Regions from separate parts of the Homo sapiens genome. Here region 1 is linked to region 2. Evidence: promoter capture Hi-C in human tissues and cell types (Jung and others, 2019). All regions are on one chromosome and are shown on one strand. Each heading gives the region's core, a stretch centred on a gene start or on the middle of the fragment in contact. The rest is flanking DNA. Distances are from core to core; before and after follow the strand shown.

The links. Contacts are between HindIII fragments. The study calls those that stand out against the background at their distance.
Region 1: a contact is called between the fragment with the promoter of CILP2 here and the fragment with the promoter of GMIP in region 2, in 2 of the 25 tissues and cell types used here (lymphoblastoid cells and mesenchymal stem cells).

The regions. Positions count from the first base shown.
Region 1 is chr19:19,535,886-19,539,791 of GRCh38, reverse strand. CILP2 (cartilage intermediate layer protein 2) reads right to left here and starts at 1,527. Exons shown (of 8, transcript NM_153221.2): 1 at 1,379-1,527; 2 at 15-113. The coding sequence starts at 1,442. It overlaps YJEFN3 (YjeF N-terminal domain containing 3), which reads right to left. Exons shown (of 7, transcript NM_198537.4): 7 at 2,211-2,473. The coding sequence ends at 2,268. RefSeq lists an enhancer at 1-189 and a silencer at 1,282-1,651. The HindIII fragment of the contact is 34,738 bases long and covers 1-3,906 here.
Region 2 is chr19:19,641,004-19,646,975 of GRCh38, reverse strand. GMIP (GEM interacting protein) reads left to right here and starts at 3,319. Exons shown (of 21, transcript NM_016573.4): 1 at 3,319-3,465; 2 at 4,357-4,441; 3 at 4,925-5,000; 4 at 5,109-5,166. The coding sequence starts at 3,447. ATP13A1 (ATPase 13A1) reads left to right here. Exons shown (of 26, transcript NM_020410.3): 23 at 629-771; 24 at 991-1,102; 25 at 1,186-1,329; 26 at 1,444-1,778. The coding sequence ends at 1,554. RefSeq lists a silencer at 3,226-3,475 and enhancers at 4,106-4,265, 3,487-4,442. The HindIII fragment of the contact is 23,421 bases long and covers 1-5,426 here.

The DNA.
Region 1 (3,906 bases), core at 278-2,777, 110 kb after region 2:
GCAGGCTAACTCACCTTCCCAGTCCTCCAGGGCTGGTGAGGGCTGGCCGGTGTACACGGACCGTCTTTCCAGGCCCAGTGCAGTCGCCATTGGCTCCTCGGTGGGGGTGGCGTCTGTGGGTGAGGAGTGGGGAGAAGGAAGCACGCTGCTACTGATGGGGACCGCTGGGAGCCTCCTTTTAGGCAAGGTGCAGCCACGATCATCCCCCCCCTTTTTTTTTTTTTTTTTGAGACGGAATCTCCCTCTGTCACCCAGGCTGGAGTGCAGTGGCACGATCTCGGCTCACTGCAGCCTCTGCCTCCTGGGTTCAAGTGATTCTCACACCTCAGCCTCCTGAGTAGCTGGGATTACAGGCACGCTCCACCAGGCCTAGCTAATTTTTATATTTTTAGTAGAGACGGGGTTTCACCATGTTGGCCAGGTTGGTCTCAAACTCCTGACCTCAGGTAGTCCGCCCGCCTCGGCCTCCCAAAGTGCTGGGATTACAGGCGTGAGCCACCGTGCTTGGCCCATGATCCCCATTTTAACAGGAGGGAAAATTGAGGCTCTGAGAGGCCAGAACCCAGCTCTAGCCCCAAGGGCTGCCATACACTCTCCTCCAGCGCGCTGCCCATGACCACCACCAGGCCCCCAAAGCCAGGTACCTCTCTCTGACCTAGCCCTAACCCCCCGGCTGGGGAAGTGCAAGTACCACCCAGTTCCCCTAGGCTAGAGTCTCCCTCCCACTATGTTCAGCTGCCGCGAGATCAATCAAGTTCAGCTGGCTGTGCCTCTGCCCTCAGGCTGGGCTCCCCCTCATCCACTTGGCCTGCTGGAAGCCCCTCCCTTAGTCTGTCTTCCATCCCTGTACTACAGTCCGAGCTGCCGGGAAGTCCTTGGAATCTAGACTGGCTTCTCCAAGATAGGAGCTGTCCAAGATACTCCCAGCAGAGTGATGAGGTCAGACAAGCCCCTTCCTTCTGGGTGCCTCAGTCTCCTCACTTGAGAAGTGGGCCCGTCCCCCGCCCCATTGAGTGTTCCAGGGATGGGCATTTCTTTCTCCAGCGGTTGGAGTGAGTGCGTGTGTGGGAGTTAGGTGGGAGGGGCCAGTTCCGACCCCTTCGGTCCAGGGTGGGAGACCTGGCCGGTGATTCAGAGTCCAAACCCCGGGAGGAACCCTAGGTTCTTATCCACACTCCCGGCTTAGCCAAGGAAGAGAATGGATGAGGCCCGCTCCGCGCCCCAGGTGGTCGCGGGGATCCGACTGGTGAAGGGGACCCAGTCCCCGGGGAAGCGCGTGGGTCCCTGGGTTCTCTCCCCGAGTGCGGCTTCACCCAAGGCCGGCTGCCAGGCCCTCGGGAGCCTCAGGGGCTGGGCGCGGGGGCTGGAGGCGCCTCACCTCGGGCCCCCGCCAGGTGCGCAGCGACGACACAGAGACAGAGCAGTGGCAGCAGCGACGCCATGGCCGGGGCAGAGCGTCCGAGGGAGGGTCCGGGCTCCGCGGCGTGCTCGGGTCCAACTCCGGCGGGTCTGGCGGCCGCTGGGACTGAGAGTGGGGGCGGGATGCGACCGCAGATCCCGCCCTGGCCACGCCCCATTCAGGCCACGCCCCCTGGCCCTGGGTGACGGCGCTCGAGCAACCCCTCTGGGTCGCCCCCCTTGGTGCGTCTGGCTGTGCCTCCGTCCTCAGGCTGTCCTGGGTTCCCCGTGGCCTGCTGGAACTCCCTCCCCGAGCCCACTCAGTCCTCCAAGCTGCATCCCAAGCTGCCTGAGGGAAGTGTCACTTGGAATCCAGCCTCAAGCTGCTCGGACCCGCTTTAGGTGGCTGGAAGTCCTGTCTCGCGTCTCACTTCGATCCTATAGGCTTTAGGCCACCCCAAACAGTCTGGGAGTCCCACCCTGAATCTACCCTCCATTCTTCTGGCTCGAGTTTTCTTTCTTCTTTTTCTTTTAATTTGTAGAGTCGGGATCTTGCTATGTTGCCCAGGCTGGTCCCAAACTCCTGGCCTTAAGCGATCCTCCAGCCTCAGCCTCCCAAAGTGCTGAGATTACAGGCAGGAGCCACCGCCCCCAGCCCTAGCTGAAGTTTTCTAGGCCAGCGGGAAGTCCCACTCCACCGCCCTTCTCATGCTCCCCGCCTTGGATCACCCAGGGACCGTGTGAAGTCCCTCTTCGAGTGTGCCCACCCCCGCAGCGGGCCCGGTGCACAAAGGAGGCGGAGGCGAGGCGGCGGTGGTGGGAGGGCTGTTTATTGGCGAGGGTCCCTGCGGTGTGGCCGCGGGTGGCGGTCACAGTGCCGCGACGCAGTCGGTGCCCGTGTATCCCGGCAGGCGCAGAGCGAACTTGCGGCGCACGTCATCGGGCACGAACCTGCCGGCCACGAAGTGGTGGCGCCCGGAGAAGCGGCCAGCGCAGCGCTTGGGCGCCGCGAGAGACACCAGCACGTCAGGCCGCAGCCCGTCCTCCGAATCGCTGCCGGTCTCTGCGTCCCAGCCTGAGGGAGGAGGGTCCGGGGGGATTGGGAACTGGGAGGGTGGCCTGCCCTCAGCCTAGAGTCCATCCTGTCCCTGCCTCCTCTCCTCTCCCCTCCAACACTGAGCCTCTGCCCTCAGACCAGAGTCCTGCTGCCCCACCCCCACTTCCCCTCCCCCATCAGACCCAGCCTTTTCTCTCTGGCACATGGGTCCTGGTGAGACTTGTCGCCCCCTAGAACTCTGCCTCCGCCCTCAGACAAGTCTCTCCCAGTCCTTGGAGGTGTTTCCCTCCCAATCAGACCAGAGCTTCTGCACTCAGACTTTCTGCTTCTGCTCCTATCCTACTATTCAATCGCCCTCCTCCATCTGACCCAGCCTCTGTCTTCAGTCACCCAGGCTGGAGTGCAATGGTGCAATCTCGGCTCACTGCAACCTCTGCCACACGGGTTCAAGCAATTCTCCTGTCTCAGCCTCCCGAGTAGCTGGGACTACAGGCACACGCCACCATGCCTGGCTAATTTTTGTATATTTAGTAGAGATGGAGTTTCACCATATTGGCCAGGCTGGTCTCGAACTCCTGACCTTGTGATCTGCCCACCTCGGCCTCCCAAAGTGCTAGGATTATGGGTGTGAGCCATTGCGCCCAGCCTGTTTGTTTTTAAGATACAGTCTCTCTCTATTGCCCAGGCTGGAGTGCAGTGGCACGATCTCAGCTCACAGCAACCTCTGCCTCCCGGGTTCAAGCGATTCTCCTGCCTCAGCCTCCCAAGTAACTAGGACTACAGGCGTGCACCACTACACCCAGCAAATGTTTGTATTTTGTAGAGACTGGGTTTCGCCATGTTGGCCAGGCTGGTCTGGAACTCCTGACATCAGGTGACCCGCCCACCTCGACCTCCCAAAGTGCTGGGATTACAGGTGTGACCCCTGCACCCAGCCTCCGTCACCTCTTGAATGAGCCTCCACTTTCAGCCTAGGAGCCTTGCCTTCTCTCCTATCTCTGACTTGATTCTGGGGCCACTCACCAGAAGACACTGGATCCTCCCTCAGACTTTAATCCTTCTCTGACCCTAGCCACCACCCTCAGACTAGAGGTTCCTAACCATCCCCTCTGACCTGACAGAGCCACCCTCTCTGTCCTAGGCTGAGCCTGCAGCCTCCCTACTCAGATCAGACAGCACGCCGCCTCCCTTGGTGCCCCTGCTCTGTGGCACCTGCTGGGATGTCCCTGGGATCCCGAGAGCCAGGGGACATCCCCCGGAGTCCAGCCACCCCCACGGAGGGTCCGGCTGGCCAGCGGCTGTTTGTTCCGTCTGCCTGTCGCCTAATGGTTCCAACAGGCATGGGGCGGCAGCCAGGGCGGGCGCGGCCTTTGCCGAGTGAGCTCACGTCTGCCCAGGCAACTGGGCCAGGGGTGGGCAGAGGGCATGTGGGCTGGGCACTGGGGTGGAGG
Region 2 (5,972 bases), core at 2,070-4,569:
GGTGTGGACTGAGGCTCCCAGACCCCTCCAGGTGGTACAGCTTGGCGTCCACACCTGTCCACAGGTAGGGGTCCCAGGGGTGGGCCCCACAGAGCCCCACAAGCAAGGAACAATCATCAAGAGGGTAAAAAAACAACTAAGTGGGTCATAGGCTACACAGGACAGGCTGGTGGACAGCTGGGGAGGCCTGTGCGACACCGACACTCAGGCCAAGGCGTAAAGAACCAGGGGGGCCAGCGGCCAGGAACTGGACACAAAGGCCCCAAACAGGCATGGGCTGACGCAGGGAGTCCCCGGTGGCTGGAGGGGGTGGGAGATTGGCTGGGCGGGACTGTGCCTGTCCCGTGGGCTCCAGGGAGGGCAGGATCTGCTTCATGATTCTCAGGCCCCTGTGGCTGCCATGGGGAGCCTGGATGGCGGAGCCGGGGCCAGGGAGGCAGCCCTGGGCTCAGGGGTGAGAGGCAGGCAGGGATCCAGGGACTGGTGCTGACCCATGGAATCCCCCAGGATTTGGTGGTGGCTGTACACAAGGTCTCCCGGGAGGCAGGGGATGTTACTGCCTGCTGTGTGGGCAGGGTGGCCCCAAGTGAGCCAGATCCTGACTCCCCCACCCGCCTTGCTGCTGCAGCCCCTCAAGACCCTCTCCCGAGAACGGCCCCTGCCCAACATCTTCAACCTGTACACCATCCTCACCGTCATGCTCCAGTTCTTTGTGCACTTCCTGAGCCTTGTCTACCTGTACCGTGAGGCCCAGGCCCGGAGCCCCGAGAAGTAAGTGCTGCCTTGGAGGAGGTGATGTCCCTGCAGCTGAGAATAGCAGGAGGATGACTCCACAGACTTCAGCAGGAGAGGCTGGGGGTTGTCCAGGGTGTCCAGGGAGGGGCACTAGGCCAGGCAGAGCCCTAGCTCTGTGCCAGGGCAGCAGGAAGCCACACAGTGTGTGTGAGCCGGAGCAGGAGAGGGGGCCCTGACTCCCATGTGTCCTTGCAGGCAGGAGCAGTTCGTGGACTTGTACAAGGAGTTTGAGCCAAGCCTGGTCAACAGCACCGTCTACATCATGGCCATGGCCATGCAGATGGCCACCTTCGCCATCAATTACAAAGTAAGGCCTGGGCCCTGCCCAAACATTCACTGTCTGCCCACCCAGCCCCACCCCATGAAGCCATCTGTCCCTCATCCCCACAGGGCCCGCCCTTCATGGAGAGCCTGCCCGAGAACAAGCCCCTGGTGTGGAGTCTGGCAGTTTCACTCCTGGCCATCATTGGCCTGCTCCTCGGCTCCTCGCCCGACTTCAACAGCCAGTTTGGCCTCGTGGACATCCCTGTGGAGGTCAGTGGCCCTGTGGAGGTGACCCTGGGGCTCAGCTTGATGGGTCCCTCCTATGGCAGTGACCCTGAGCTGGGCTGCAGGTCTCCAGCTCACCATCCCTCCCTGCCCCGACAGTTCAAGCTGGTCATTGCCCAGGTCCTGCTCCTGGACTTCTGCCTGGCGCTCCTGGCCGACCGCGTCCTGCAGTTCTTCCTGGGGACCCCGAAGCTGAAAGTGCCTTCCTGAGATGGCAGTGCTGGTACCCACTGCCCACCCTGGCTGCCGCTGGGCGGGAACCCCAACAGGGCCCCGGGAGGGAACCCTGCCCCCAACCCCCCACAGCAAGGCTGTACAGTCTCGCCCTTGGAAGACTGAGCTGGGACCCCCACAGCCATCCGCTGGCTTGGCCAGCAGAACCAGCCCCAAGCCAGCACCTTTGGTAAATAAAGCAGCATCTGAGATTTTAAAAAGCCCTGCCTCCACCTCGTCTGTGCCACACGGTGTTTGCTGGGGGCTCGGGGACAGAGGGTCACTGAGGAAGGTCCCAGCACCCTCCCCACAGGCGTGTGATGTTGGTGAAACCCTCTGGCACTTTCAGCACTTGAACATGGACTTGTCCCTGCCCAGAGAATTCAGTGCATATTTTCTAGTTTAACAAGCACCCCCATATTTCTGAGGTCTCTTTCACATTTTAACAACTCAGGTGCTGAGAGAAGCCTTAGGATGTGTGATATTTTTTTCTTTCCCATAATACATAACAGCATGCCTTTCTCTCGGGTGGTGTCTGAGACTTGAGGAATATGATCTGCATCATTACAAGTATTGACTCTGTCCGGTGGCTCAAGCCTGTAATCCCAGCACTTTGGGAGGCCAAGGCGGGCCCATCACAAGGTCAGGAGATCGAGACCATCCTGGCTAACACAGTGAAACCCCATCTCTACTAAAAATACAAAAAATTAGCCAGGCATGGTGGCGAGTGCCTGTAGTCCCAGTTACTCGGGAGGCTGAGGCAGGAGAATGGCGTGAACCCAGGAGGTGGAGCTTGCAGTGAGCCGAGATAACGCCACTGCACTCCAGCCTGGGCAACAGAGCGAGACTCCAACTCAAAAGAAAAACAAACAAGTACTGACTCTGTCATGCTCTTTGGGGGCCTGCGCTGCTCTACCATCTCATGTCACAGTCAGGGAGCTCTGGCTGAGCATCAGCCAGGATGTGACCTGGAAACCTGGCTTGGCTCTTAGGTTGATAGTGTTATTCCTTTCAATGGACTCACTCATCACAACTCAAGAACTGCAGAGTAGGCAGCACGGAGCCAGTCAGAGAATCCTTGCCTCCTTAACAGCCAAAGCCTTTGGACACAAAGTTATAAACATACTTTAAAGTCTATTTCCAGCCCCAAAATTCCACTGTGCTGGGGGTGGGAGCATTTTTATAACAGGCGGCTTGTGGCAACCCCAGAGCTGGTGCTTTTGGACAAACCTCCACTCCCTACCTAAAAGGGCTGCTCCCTGGTGTGCTGTAATTGGGGCCTTGAGCCTGATCCAGCTTTGAGGGTCACGGAAGGGGCGTCCCCCAGGCCAGGGGTTCTCCAGCCCGAGTATTAGAATTTTGGTTGGAATCGGACAGAATATCAGGCCTCCACCAGGGGGCGCCATGGCTCCAGCGAGGCCCAGGTGGTTTCAGGGCTCCGAGAGACAACCTGGGCAAGGGGATCACCAGGGTCGCGGGTTGTGGGAGCTCCTGGGAGAGGCCCCCCGGGACAGGTGGACTCTGCAACCATTCAGGGAGGAGGGGGCTGGGGCTCCGTGGGATTTGGGGTAGCACAAAGATCTGAGAGGGAACCTATGGCCCAGATGAAGTCTTAGGATGCCCAGGTCAGGGGCACTGCAGCCTCGAGTGGTCGCTCAGGGGGCCCTGGCCCGACCCAGTTTCAAGCGGCTCAGGTAGAGAAGGGCACTATCAAGGCTTCCGGGCTACGGGGGCGTGGTCTGATGCGGGGGCGTGGCCTCCGCTGGGCAGGGCGACGCGGAACCGAGGCGGCGGCGGCGGCTGCGGCGGCAGGAAATCGGGGCTCGGCCCCGCCGGCGCGCGACCCCATCCCCATCCCGGTCCCTGCAGAGCGATCCCCGGGCCCAGATATGGACGCAGCAGAGCCGGGTAGGGGGTCGGGGATCCGGGAGGGGCCTCCCCCGACCATCCCCTGCTTCCTACATTGAGGGCACACACTTGTCCCGCTCCGTCCTGAGAGCCAGGAGAGGAGTTCCTGAATGGGAAGGACCCAGGGATCCTCCATTGTGGGGAGCCCTGTGCCCGGATGGGTTCAGGACCCCAGCCCTTCACTCCCCCTCCCCCTTTTGATCCCTCACCCCAGACGCCTGGGGGAGGGGGCCCAGGAAGGGGAAGTGACTGCTTCTGCTTCTGATTTTTGTGATGGGGGCAGGGTGCCACGACTGCTGAGGGAGAGGGCAACGCGGTAGGATCCCCACAGGGCCCCTCTGTAGCCCTGGGGAGTCGGCAGTGCTGGTCTAGGCCCCTTAGGAGAGGGGGCAGGGGGGCAGCAGTAGAAATGTGGCGGGGTCCGACTTGGTGTTTCCGGCCGTCTTTGTGTCTGTGTTGTGTATGTGGAGTGTCATTCGGTCTTTATGTCCCTCACGGCTTCAGTCTCTCCATGTGTGTTTCTGCCCCAGGCTCTGCCTGGCTGTCCCTTGTGTATTTCCATCTGTCTAGCCCGTGGTTCCATTGTCAGACCGGCTTTCTTCTCGGGACAGCCTGGTTGCATCTGGGGCATCTGTTTTGTTGGTTTGCTTCTGGGTGCAGGCAGACCCAGGGAGTGGGTGTCTCTGTTCCCCGAGCAGCTGTCTCTGGTCTCTGGTGGTGTGTGAGTCCATCTGCCTGCCTCGAGTTGGCCCCAACCAAGCCCCCCCCAGCCCTCTCTTTCTCTCTCTCACTCTTCCCTTTCTCTTCCACCCCCTCCAAATGAGACTGGTTGAGGTGCCGTGGGTGGAGGGAGGCAGTGGTTAGCCCATGTATTACACTCCCCTCCCCTAGGACTCCCCCCAGGTCCTGAGGGCAGGAAGAGGTACAGTGACATCTTCCGGAGCCTGGACAACCTCGAAATCTCACTGGGGAACGTGTGAGTCTGAGCCTGGATCACCCCCAAATCCTGCCAAGATGCCCCAAGCCCCTAACCATTTAGGTGCCTTGCAGTCCCATTTGGAACCTGTAACATCTGGACCTACATACCTAATAACCAGAGAAGTCTAGGATGGGACCCTCCAAAATGCCTCGGTATCCTAAAAGTGTCCCCCTAAATAGACTGGAAATCCCCAAAGTGGTCCTAGAACCCCTACATATCCTTGTAACCCCTTAAAATATTTGCGATCCCTATAATCCCACTCTATGAACCTCAAAGTTATCTGGGGCCCTTCAGATGCTTTTTCAAGTCCTATTTAAAAAAAACTCACCTGATTCCCCCAAAACACCATTCTTCAGACCTCCCAGACACAAGAGATGCCACAGAGGTGATGTTTGCCACAAACAACCCTAAGGTCCCCAGCACCCCTTGGCAGGACAGACTGGGTGTAAGGTGGCATCCTGACACACCTTTATCCCCCAGGACCCTTGAGATGCTGGCTGGAGACCCTCTACTCTCAGAAGACCCAGAACCTGACAAGACCCCTACAGCCACTGTTGTGAGTGGGGAGTAGGGGAACAGGGAGGAAGACCTCAAGCAGAGGGGGCCTTAGGAAGGCCAGGCCCCTGCCCTGTTTGCTTCTGAATACTGTCTCCCTCCCGCACAGACCAACGAAGCCAGCTGTTGGAGCGGCCCCTCCCCAGAGGGTCCTGTACCCCTCACAGGTAGGGGGGTCTGGAGGCCAGGACAGTGGGGACAGACAGGAGTCTTTCCTTCAACAAATCACCACTGATCCCCTGTTCCATGCAAGGCATCGTTTAGGTTTTGGGAATATGGCAGTACACACAACAGATCTCAGTCCCAGCCCTCAGGGAGACCCCAGGCAGGGTGGAGGCTGAGGTAGGAGGATCACTTGAAGCCAGGAATTCGTGACCATGCTGGGCAACAGTAAGACACCATCCCTACCAAAAGAAAAAATATTTTTTTAATTAGCTGGGTGTGGTGGTGTGTGCCTGTAGTCCCAGCTACTTTGGAAGCTGAGGCTGGAGGACTGATTAAGCCCAGGACTTTGAGGCTGCAGTGAGATACGATTGTGCCACTGCACTCCAGCCTGGATGACAGAGCAAGACCATGTCCAAAAAAATCAAACACAAGGCCGGACGCAGTGGCTCACGCCTGTAATCCCAGCACTTTGGAGGCTGAGGCGGGTGGACCACGAGGTCAGGAGATCGAGACCATCCTGGCTAACATGGTGAAACCCCATCTCTACTAAAAATACAAAAAAATTTAGCCGGGCGCAGTGGCGAGTGCCTGTAGTCCCAGATACTCGGGAGGCTGAGGCAGGAGAATGGCGGGAACCCAGGAGGCGGAGCTTGCAGTGAGGCAAAATAGGGCCATTGCACTCCAGCCTGAGCGACAGAGCGAGACTCCGCCTCAAAAATAAAAATAAAAAAACCCATCAAACACAGGCCGGGCACGGTGGCTCATGCCTGTAATCCCAGCACTTTGGGAGGCCGAGGCGGGCAGATCA